4 separate regions of the Homo sapiens genome follow, and all the other regions are linked to region 1. Evidence: promoter capture Hi-C in 16 types of primary human blood cells and fetal thymus (Javierre and others, 2016). All regions are on one chromosome and are shown on one strand. Each heading gives the region's core, a stretch centred on a gene start or on the middle of the fragment in contact. The rest is flanking DNA. Distances are from core to core; before and after follow the strand shown. Region 1 holds the start of FGF18 (fibroblast growth factor 18). Region 2 has its middle 140 kb from the start of SMIM23. Region 3 has its middle 170 kb from the start of SMIM23. Region 4 has its middle 170 kb from the start of FGF18.

Evidence for each region. Contacts are between HindIII fragments. The CHiCAGO score rates a contact against its expected background, and 5 or more counts as called.
Region 2: a fragment that was not itself captured here is called in contact with the fragment with the promoter of FGF18 in region 1 in 1 of 17 cell types (endothelial precursors); the score reaches 5.5 in endothelial precursors.
Region 3: a contact is called between a fragment that was not itself captured here and the fragment with the promoter of FGF18 in region 1, in 1 of 17 cell types (endothelial precursors). The highest score is 6.9, in endothelial precursors.
Region 4: a contact is called between a fragment that was not itself captured here and the fragment with the promoter of FGF18 in region 1, in 1 of 17 cell types (endothelial precursors). The highest score is 5.1, in endothelial precursors.

What each region holds. Positions count from the first base shown.
Region 1 is chr5:171,418,296-171,420,950 of GRCh38, forward strand. It overlaps FGF18 (fibroblast growth factor 18), which reads left to right and starts at 1,352. Exons shown (of 5, transcript NM_003862.3): 1 at 1,352-1,936; 2 at 2,112-2,148. The coding sequence starts at 1,905. RefSeq lists silencers at 1,189-1,298, 1,419-1,528, 1,669-1,718, 1,779-1,858. The HindIII fragment of the contact is 2,658 bases long and covers 1-2,574 here.
Region 2 is chr5:171,642,415-171,645,069 of GRCh38, forward strand. No RefSeq gene overlaps it. Among named protein-coding and RNA genes, the nearest start is that of SMIM23, 140 kb to the right of the region's middle. RefSeq lists enhancers at 1,865-2,366, 2,367-2,655. The HindIII fragment of the contact is 486 bases long and covers 1,084-1,569 here.
Region 3 is chr5:171,619,090-171,621,744 of GRCh38, forward strand. No RefSeq gene overlaps it. Among named protein-coding and RNA genes, the nearest start is that of SMIM23, 170 kb to the right of the region's middle. RefSeq lists an enhancer at 1-297. The HindIII fragment of the contact is 5,155 bases long and covers 1-2,655 here.
Region 4 is chr5:171,588,379-171,591,033 of GRCh38, forward strand. No RefSeq gene overlaps it. Among named protein-coding and RNA genes, the nearest start is that of FGF18, 170 kb to the left of the region's middle. The HindIII fragment of the contact is 1,307 bases long and covers 689-1,995 here.

The DNA.
Region 1 (2,655 bases), core at 102-2,601:
CTGTTTAAAATAGCCTCAGCTTTGAAAGGGAACTTAAAATAGCTTGCAAGGAGGCCTGATATTTGGAACAATTACTAATGTTTTATAGTCATGGCTTCAGCAAATAGCACTGTTCGACAGTCCTACCTCAGTTTATGCTCCAGTGGACCATCAACCATTGCCAACGCAAGGAGGCTTTAACCAAATAGTCCAGATTCCTGAGTTTTGCTTGAGCCTGTCCTCCAGCGTCTTTCTCACTGTGACCTATTTTCCTTAGCATCAGGCTCAAGCAGAGCTTGGCTGACACCAGCTCTAGACAGTGAGGCAGGTACGTGACAAGAACACCTACGTTTTGGGGTTGGTGGGAAGGACAGGAGTTATGCCTCTGGAAGGGGCAGAGGCGGTAAGAACCAGTGTCCTGAATGGGGCCCTGGTTAAAGGAACGAAGCTGCCTAGTATGCAAACGGAGGCAAGTCTTAGTCCGGTTTTGGGAGGAGGCCGGAAGAGGGCCTCAGCGTGGTCGCTGACCAGAGTCCTGCTGGCTGCTCCCCGGCGTGCAGCCGTCCGTGCTGGGGTTGCAGTGACGTCTCGGGGCCGCTTGGTGGTAGCCGTGTGTTTCCAAAGCTGGCTCGCCTACGGGAGAGTCCAGCTGGGATCCCGTGAACCGACCCCAGAGCCCCGGAGGGGGCGAGGGGTGGGAAGGAGAGATGCCCGGGAGCCCCCTTCGCAGCGGCAGGGACGTAAGAAGAGGACGGGGGCTCACTTAAGTGGGTAGCCAGTCAAGAGGGTGGCTGGGAAACTCCACGATCGCAGGGCGGGTAAAAGCGACCCCCATTCAGTGGAGCCGCCCCGGGGCTGGGTTTGACCCGCCCCTCTCGGCTCTCCACTAGAGCGCTGGTGAGTGAGTGCGAGTAGCGAATGTGGGCAGGTGAGGACGTTCCGTACCTAACTGCGTTCTTGGGGAGCATCGCCTGCCCAATTTGGGCAACGTTTGCGCGGAGGAGCGGTCACTGCGCTCGGGCGCAGAGCTCCGACGGCTTCCAGCGCTCACCAGCTTCAGTCTCGCGGGTCCTGCCCCTTTGGAGCTGCCGGTCCCGTCTCCGAGAGTCTGAGCGCCTCCCCTCCAACCCCGAGCCGCCAGGAGAAGGAGGAGGAGGCAGCGAGAGGCCGCGGCAGGCAGGCGAGCAGGCAGGGCCGCCTTTGATGTGGGCTGGGCGCACCCAGGCGAGCTGAGCGCCCGTCCGGCCGCGCCCCGAGGGGGGAGCCCCCAGGCCCCGCATCCTCATTGTGCCGGCTCGGGCCCGGGCCCGCCCCCGGCCCCCCGCCCCCTCGCCGCCCGCGCGTAGAAAACGCCCCGGCCGCCGCCAGTGGTGGGAGGCGGCGATGCGCACGGCCGGAGAGACGCGGAGGAGGAGACATGAGCCGGCGGGCGCCCAGACGGAGCGGCCGTGACGCTTTCGCGCTGCAGCCGCGCGCCCCGACCCCGGAGCGCTGACCCCTGGCCCCACGCAGCTCCGCGCCCGGGCCGGAGAGCGCAACTCGGCTTCCAGACCCGCCGCGCATGCTGTCCCCGGACTGAGCCGGGCAGCCAGCCTCCCACGGACGCCCGGACGGCCGGCCGGCCAGCAGTGAGCGAGCTTCCCCGCACCGGCCAGGCGCCTCCTGCACAGCGGCTGCCGCCCCGCAGCCCCTGCGCCAGCCCGGAGGGCGCAGCGCTCGGGAGGAGCCGCGCGGGGCGCTGATGCCGCAGGGCGCGCCGCGGAGCGCCCCGGAGCAGCAGAGTCTGCAGCAGCAGCAGCCGGCGAGGAGGGAGCAGCAGCAGCGGCGGCGGCGGCGGCGGCGGCGGCGGAGGCGCCCGGTCCCGGCCGCGCGGAGCGGACATGTGCAGGCTGGGCTAGGAGCCGCCGCCTCCCTCCCGCCCAGCGATGTATTCAGCGCCCTCCGCCTGCACTTGCCTGTAAGCGCCCGCGCGCGGGGCTGCCCACCTTGCCTGGCTGTCTGTCCGTATGCCTGTGCCCTGTACCTCTGTCTGCCCGCCCGTCGGTTCACCTGACTCTTCGACTGCGTGTCTGTCTGTCCGTGCGCCCCCTTCCTCAGGTCCCACTGACCGCTTCTCCATCTGTTTCCCGCAGGTGTTTACACTTCCTGCTGCTGTGCTTCCAGGTACAGGTACGTGGGCTCCTGACTTTGACCTCCTCCCGCCCCTGCCTCGCGGTACACGCCGACCCCCCTTCCCCGGCCGCGCCCCCTCCCTGTGCCCCACCCCTCCTGGGCGCTGAGCCCAGTGCACCTGTTCCCAGGGCGCGGAAGGGCGGCTCCGCGTGCGCCCTGCGCCGGCGGGGAACCGGCCAAGGGCAAGGGGCTCTGCCGCGGGGCCCGAGGAGGCGCTGGCTGTCGCGGCCACTGTCGGCCTCGGCTGGGAGGAGATCCCGCAGAGCCGGCGGGCTCAGCCGCAACAATATACCCAGCTCTAAGACCCCTGCCCGCAGCCAGCGAGGGGTAGGACCTAGGGATTTTCTCTGCCAACCTTCCCTTAACATCGCCGCTTCCAAACAAAAAGACTTTCAGCCGAGTGGATTTCGAGTCCAGGGAGAAAGCTTCAGTTGTAAATTACTCTGTGGTTTTGAAGGCGCTTGCAGCACTGAGACACACACACAGACACACACACATGCCCGG
Region 2 (2,655 bases), core at 77-2,576, 220 kb after region 1:
GGTTTTTTAGCAGGTAAGTAGGCTGTGTCCCTCATCGCCATGGGTAATCTGGAAGCAAACTAATTTGAGTCATTTTGAGAGACTCTTCCTTAACTTACATGCCCACATTATAGTGACTATTAACTGCAGTAAGTTAGGTTATGCTGCAGTAACAGATACTCCCAAATCTCAGTGGCTCTCACAGAAAGCTTGCATTTTCACCATGCAGAGTGTGTTCTGGGTCTAGGCCAGAGAACAGGGCAACTGTTCTCTATGCAACAGCTCCACAATCCCGGTGGAAGGACATTCCACCATCTTCTACATCATCATCTGGAACAGGAAGTCTTCTCAGTCAATGCCAAAGACGAAGAGAGAGAAAGAGGGGGTTCTCAAGCCAGCAATTAAATGCTTTTGAAGTGACATTTGTAACTTCTGCTCACACCCATTGGTCAAAGCAAGTCCCCTGGCCCTGCTGAGCCAAGCAGGCTGGAGATGCAGACTTTCCCGCACCTGGACAGAGAGACAAGCAAGCCATTCGTGAGCACTAGTAATGTCTCTTACAGGGTCTATGGAATGGTTGCTGTTTTTTAAATTCAGAATTGTTTAAAATCCAACTTCTTTCCTTTTCTGACGTTGAATCCTGCAGCAATTATTATCTCCATTTGGCGGATGTGGAAACTGGGGTCAAAGGTCAAATAAATGATGTCTGCAACTGACAAAACAAGATTAGACTTTTAAAAAATTACCTGCAGTGTCACTCTGAAAACCTCTCCTCTCTATAGTCTCCCACTCAGGTGATGATACCCACATCCATAGTAAGGCACGGAAACATGGGTTCTAGCCTCTGCCCTCATGCCAATCAACCGAGGACCCCTGGAAAAGTCACTTTACCTTTCCAAGGCTCAGTCTACCTGCCTGCAAAATGGCAGTAGAAACTACCCCATCCTCCTGGTCTCCAAGAGTTAGCTAAGGATGAGATGAAACACTAGGTATGAGGTAAATGAAACTTGGATAAAATTCCTGATGTTGCTATTATCTGTGAGAGGGGAGGAAATACTCTTGGGTGCAGTAATGAATGAGCTTTACTCAAAGGAGATCTTCAAAAGCTTATTTCTGGCGCTCAGAAATTACCCGCAGAATTTCCAGACTGCCATGTGGAGTGCTTTGACACTCGACTTTCAACTCTAGCCTGTCTTTGTGGCCTTAGGCAAGTCACTTCACCTCTCTGACCTGCAGGCTATTCATCTGTATGACGGGTTGCCTATCCTCCTGGCAGGGGTGCTGGGAGGGCCCGAGCCAAGGCTGAGGGGTCCCCTGGAATTCAGAAGGCACTAAGCAAAAACTAGTTGCCCTTTTCCCGAGGATCTTGTAAGAGAACCTTGCCAGAGATTTGGGATCCGGAATTTTTTTCCCTTCAAAGGAATGGCAATAAGGAAATGTGTGTGAGCATGTGAGAGGGAGGGTGCATATGAGTGTGTGTGTGTGTGTTTGTGTGTGTGTATGTGTGTGTGTGTAGGGGGAGAGGACTGTGGAGAAATAAAGAAATGGTGGGGAATAAACAACAGAACATTTTAGTGACTTGCAGATGAAAGCTTCTTTTAGCAGAATTCATTAGCTTTCTGCACACCAGTTTAGCTGTGTTTGGAAAAATACTTAACTTGCTATAGGATGCCAAGTCATGAATGTGTCAGAGAGAGAGAGAAAATTTTTTTTTAGAAATTCGTCTGTCCCTCTCCTAAGAGCAAAGGGTCTATTGAAACGCAGTGGTTGATGCTTGTTGGTGACATTCTCTTTATTTATTCTTTGTGTGAGAATGTGGGAAGGAAGTCAGGAGTGAAAGGTTTTTGCATGTTATTCTGAGAGATGGAGGGAGAGGGGGCAAAGAAGAAAGAATAATGGGTGGGAAAAGGAGAGAAAACTGTGAGGGGGAAAGGAAAGGACAGAGAGGGCTTGAAAAGGAGCAATAGTGAAAGAGATGGAGGCGAGGAGAGACAGAGAAAGAAGGGGAGGGAAAGGGAGTGAGTCCGGAGGGCAGAGCTGAGAGCTGGGAGACAGGCAGGGGAGAAGACAAAGAAAGAGAAGGAAAGAGGAGTCAGAAGAGACAAGCAGACAGACAGACAGCCCACTAGGACAGACGAGAGAAGGGCCGGGAGATGGGGAGGTGGGGCGGGACTGGGAGAGCGGGACCCACTGTCCCCTCCCATCTTGAACCTGCCTTGGTGTATGTCAACCTTGACGCCTCTCTCAGGGCCTGCCTACCCAACCAGCTGCATCTGCAATGTTTAAAGTGCCCGTTTCTCACATGGAGCCTGACGATGGAGCCGAGCCAGCCTGCATTTGACAACCAGATGCTGAGCTCACACAAAGGCATCCTCCGCCCTGGCTGCTGGCGGGGAGATGAGCAGGACTTTGCAGAGCACCAGTCCACCCTCCGTGCCTGAAAACCCAGGGCAGGCCCTGCCACAGCTTCAGCCACCAAGAAGGGACCAGGGTTTTGGAATCAGACAGAGCTGAGTTTGAATCATACACAGCCCATCCCTTCCCGGTGGCTCTGTGCATGTGGTCCTGAGCCTTGGTTTCCCCATCTGTGAGATGGGGCTAGTAAGAAAATGGATGGTGAGAGGATTCCTAAGGAAAGAAGCATCAAGGGTTTGGTAAAGAGAAGACCATAGATTG
Region 3 (2,655 bases), core at 54-2,553, 200 kb after region 1:
TAATGGGCTCTGTTTTGTATGTGCTGTGACCCTAGTTGTACAGATGAAAAATTGGAGACACAGAAAAGTGATGGTTTGTGAAAGTCACACGACCAGTTAAGAGCCTAAGCTGGGACTCTTTCCACTGCCTCAGCTATTTCTCTCTGTCCTCCACCCCCAGCCCCAGGGAGGGTGTTAATGAGGCCTGCACAGGAGAGAGGCAGGGGTGAGGAGCTGTGCCCGCAGGTGCCTGCAGGTCTTCCTGCAGTGGCCAGCCCAGGGCCTGGCGCCACTCCTCCCCTGCCTGTCTGCTCTCCCCAGCATGTGATGGTGGCTGATACCCCCTGGGGTGGGGTGGGGGGGCCCTGCACGAGTCTGGGCCCTGCCACGACGCCACCCTGGAGACCCAGAGTCTGTCTCCCAAGAACTGCAGTCCTTCCCATTCTGGGATCCCTGGGCGGGGTAGGTGGGGCTTGGGGAATACTCAGAACTGGCTCAAAGGACTGGGAAGCTCCTCGAGGGCCCCAGTGGGTTGGGGGGGAAACGTAAGCTGCAAGACCTCAGAGGCCTGGTATTCTATTGTCTTTTTCTGTCTTTGTGCCCAGCTGGTCCTTTCACTCTTTTCCTCTCTGTCTCTGGGTGGCTCAGGGGTCATAGTTTGTGATGTGTTGGCTAAAGTAAGAATGAGAAGCCAAGAGATCCCATTTTAGCCTCACTTATGCTGGGTGACCCTAGGGTGTTCTTCCCCCTCTCTGGGCCTCCAGCTGCTGGGCCACAGCTTAGAGCCCCTCAGGGCCCTTAGGCCCTGATGCCCAGGCCATCCCAGGGCAGTGAAGAGCTCAGAAGACAATGTTTGACTGTTTTCTTCATACAAGGAACATTTGAGAAGCACTTCCTGGCTCTCGATGGAAAGAGATTTAAAGAGGAAAATAAAGCAAGCATGGAAGTACCTCTTATTGACAAGCCCAGGCCTTGTTAGCTTAGCGTCTGCTCCTGCTCTGCTTCTGTCCCTCTCTGTGACTTGGGAGCCATTTCTCAAGCCCCCAGCCCTTTCCCTCACGATCTTCCTCTTCAAGTTCCTGCTCAGGAAAGTGTGCTTCGAAATGTGGGCACAGGGGAGAGTCAAAGTGAGAAGGTTGGCAAAGATCCATAGGAAGACCCCAGAAAGTGGCCAAGCTCCTACAAAAACATCTCACCACCACCGCTGCCACCATCTCGTCCATCACCGCTATCACCACCATCATCACCACTTCCAGCATTATCACCACTACCTCCGCCATCTCCTATGTATTACTACTATTGTCAATAGTAGTATATAATAAAAGCAACAACGAATTCTGTTGAATGCTTACCCAATGATATGCATCATACTAACTTAAATACTCTGTCCGGCTGGGCGCGGTGGCTCAAGCATGTAATCCCAGCATTTTGGGAGGCTGAGGTGGGCAGATCTTTTGAGGGCAGTTCAAAACCAGCCTGGCCAACATGGTGAAACCCTGTCTCTACTAAAAATACAGAAAATTAGCTGGCCGTGGTGGTGGGCACCTGTAATCCCAGCTACTTGGGAGGCTGAGGCAGAATTGCTTGAGCCTGGGTGGTGGAGGTTGCAGTGAGCAGGTATTGCGCCATTGCACTCCGGCCTGGGCAACAGAGCAAGACTCCGTCTCAGTAAAAAAAAAAATCTGTCCAAGTCACACATGTAGTGCCTTAGTCTGGGTTCTCCAGAAGGCAACCTTGAAACAAGGACGCAAATGCAAGTAATTTATTTGGGAGATGAAATAACAAAGTGGTATGATATCAAGCAAGTGACAACTGTGGAAAAATGGAGCTTAATCTTGCTGGGAACTCCAGGCACCAGTAAAGAACACCCACCTCAGAGTCATCCCCCCCAAGGACAACGAAGCTGGGGTATTTATACACCAACTCTGGCTAGCCGTTGTTTGGGGGCTGCCTCCAAGGGGTATTAATGCCCCATCACCTCCAGCCTTCTACACATAGAGACAGACAAGGGTCAGCTGCAGAGGAAGCCCTCAGGCAAAAAGATTTAGGTTCTGGTAGTTGGAACTCAGACCTATGTGCATGGAGATGGTAAGGACTGGGAGGATGTGGGAAGAAAAATGAAGTATCTGCTACTGGTAGTATGTGGTGACATAAGGATTCGAATCCTGGTCTTTTTTATTTTGGTGTCTATGAACAGATCAGCATATGGCTGGCTGGCTGAATGGATGAACAAACAGATAGGCAGATGGGTAGATATATGAACAGATGGAAGGTGGACGAGCAGATGATTGGACAGGTAGGTGTTCAAAAAATGGATGGTTAGATGGATGAGCAGTGGATGAATGGATGGATGTCTGAGTGGGTAGGTGGATGGACAAATATAAAATGAATGAGTAAATAGATGGAGAATGAGTAAGTCAGTGGAAGGATGGATGGATGGCTGAAAATTTTAGGGGATGGGTAAATGGGTAGATTGTTTAAGAATTGTATCTGTGACTGGATGGCTGGATAGAAAGATGAGTAGACAGAGGAGAGGTAAGTATACAGGAAGTAGGATGGGCAGGAAGTGGGTTGGAGGATGGATGATCAGGTTTGGAATCAGAGAAGGGCCATGGCTAAGTAAAACAGTGCCTCAACAGTGATCTTGAATGAAGAGAGCTCAGCTAATGTCACCCC
Region 4 (2,655 bases), core at 92-2,591, 170 kb after region 1:
AGATGCAAAGTTTTAGAAGGAGGTTCCCTCTGGCTGTCATATACTTGCCTCCTACCATACCAGGCCTACAAAATAAAGGATATAGTCCGTTGGCTTTCTTAATGGTTAGCCAGCCCCTGGGTTTCCACCAAGACTCCATGCAAAGGGGGAGTGGTGATTCTCTGAGGGATTTAGGGTACTCATACAGAGGATAAATAAATGTTTGGTAGCCCCAAGTTACCTATAGTTCATTACAACTTTTGAGTCCTAATGGTCAAACTAGGAGCTCCCACAGCCTTCCTGGCAATGGTTCTCCTTTGGAATTCTGGGTACTATGTGATCTCTGATGCTAACACAAAAAAACAGCTTTTTGCACATATCTAGGTGTGTGGCTTTTTTTTTTTAACCTGGTGTTTGAGTTGCTCCCTAAGGTATTTTCTGATGACATCCTTGCCCCCTCTCAGGTATTATATTTGCGGGTGTGGTGGTGGTGAGGGTATGGCCACCCAGGAACTGGTGCTAGAGGCAGGATTTGGACCCAGGCTTAGCTGGCTCCAAAGCCAGTGCTCTTTCCACTACAATCCTCAGCCTTCAGAAAACCAGCCCTGCCCCGATCCTTAAGAGGTGGGTCTTCATAGTCTCAGCGATAAGCAGGTGCGGGTAACCCCAGGAACACACTCTGACGGTCTCTACTATGTCTTTAGGCACAAGCTTCACAGCCAAGGCCTCGGGGTCTTCGCTTATGAAACAGGCATGAAAATCTTCCCTTTGGCACCTCTCAGTGTCAAGGTGAGAATATAGCAATTTGATGTCTGTTGAGAATCTTTCGGCAGGTCAAAGCTCAGAATTGTCATGGCTCCCCTGAGCTCAGAGGCTGCAAATAGTTGAGTAAGATGAGGCTCATGTAGGAGGCAGCAAACCTGTACTTAGTGGACAGGAAGGGGAGGTGTGCCTGGCTTTGTCCTCTTTGTTAGTGGAGAGGGGGGTAGGGGCAGTCACAAGGCAGAGGAACCCCCTTCCCTGTGGAATCTGGTTAGGGTGCTTGCACAGGGAAGAGACGGTCCTTTCTTTGTGAGAAGCAGAGGTAGGAGGGAGCTGCTTAGGGTGTCTTCTTAGTGCAAGGAGAGTTTCATCTTAAGGACCATTCCTTTCACCAATCCCCAAACGTCAGTTTGCTGATTAAATCACACGAGCGAGCATGCGTGTACACACACGTGTGCATGTGGCAGGGCAGCAGGTGGATGTAGGGGTAGGACTGACTCAATACGCATGGAAATCAGACATGCCTTTGAGCAGGTCTGCTGAACTGGGCGTACGGACCCACCAGACATGACGTACAGGAGCGATGAGGAGTTTCCTGGAGAGAATAAGAACTTAAGAAGGAGTTGGGCATAGAGGGCTGACCTGGGAGGTCCCAAGAAGGGCACAGGTATGACTCCTTGGATTTGTCCCCAGCCCAAGTCCGTGGCTTCATATCTGGGTTCAGCAACAAGCTAGCAGCAGGCTGTGTGGGTAGAATGGGAAGTTCTGTAATACACTGGGCCCAGGAAGCCCTGCTGTAGGACTCAAAGAGGGAGAGGGCCATTCTCCCCATTGTTGCCATGAAATCTCCATGAAAGTTTGGCATCCGCAAGGTTTCAGTGCAGCTGCCATAGGAGACAGGGGTGCAGCCAGGGCGCTGTGGAGGAGACGTGTTCACAGGCACAGAAGGATGGTCCTGGGGATCTTTGGGTAGGAATGGTTTATTTTACTAGATGCCCTGGGGGGACTCATTTTCTACTGACTATGTACGATGTGCCAGACGTTTTCTCTCACATTGCCTTCTCTGTGACACTTTCTCTAACCTTCCTACTTCCCTTTTTTCTCTTCTCCTCTTCTGAATTTATACCCATCCTTCATCTGTCCATCCATTCATCCATCTATCCATCCATCCATCCACCCATCCACCCTCTCAGCAAAAGAGAAACACTTAGTGGTGATATGTCATAGTTTATTAACCACTTCCCTATTGAGGGAAGCTTAAGTTATTTCTAGTTTATGCTTTTATAAACAATAGTGCAATGAAAATCCTTGTGCATGACTTGGAAAGTATTTATCGAGCACCTACTTTATACCAGATTTGTCCTATGTTCCTTTGTAGTATTAATTAAATTTTTAATAAGCATGTCTTGACTTCCCAACCTTTGTGAACCAGCGGAGCGTTAGGACTTTGCCTTTGCAGGCCCCATAACTCACTGTCCCTACTAGGTGCTTAATAAACATTGAATGAATAAATGGATCAATGAATAAAAATAATGAGCCACCCATGGAGCCAAAATATGAGCCTCAACGGGGCACTACAGCTTGACTCCTACCAATGAACTCATTCCCACCCTAGCTGTCTGTGGTGTCTGCTTTCAGTATTTGAAGGCTTTTCTGTTTTTCAAAGCTTTGGTATCTGCTCCTCTCTGCACTTTAGTCTCTGTATCCAGCTTCATCAAAGGCTGGGAAGTTAGAAAGGGGAACAAGGAGGGGAATAAATGAAGTGGAGGCCCTCAGCCATGAGCACATAGGAGCAGAGTTCAAGCATCTTCAAATCGTCCTCCCACGTAGCTCTAGGCTGCAGCCCCATTAAAGAGCTGCCCATCTAGCCACCAGCTCTGCGTGTGCTCACCTTCTTGCCTTTGCTGGTGCTGT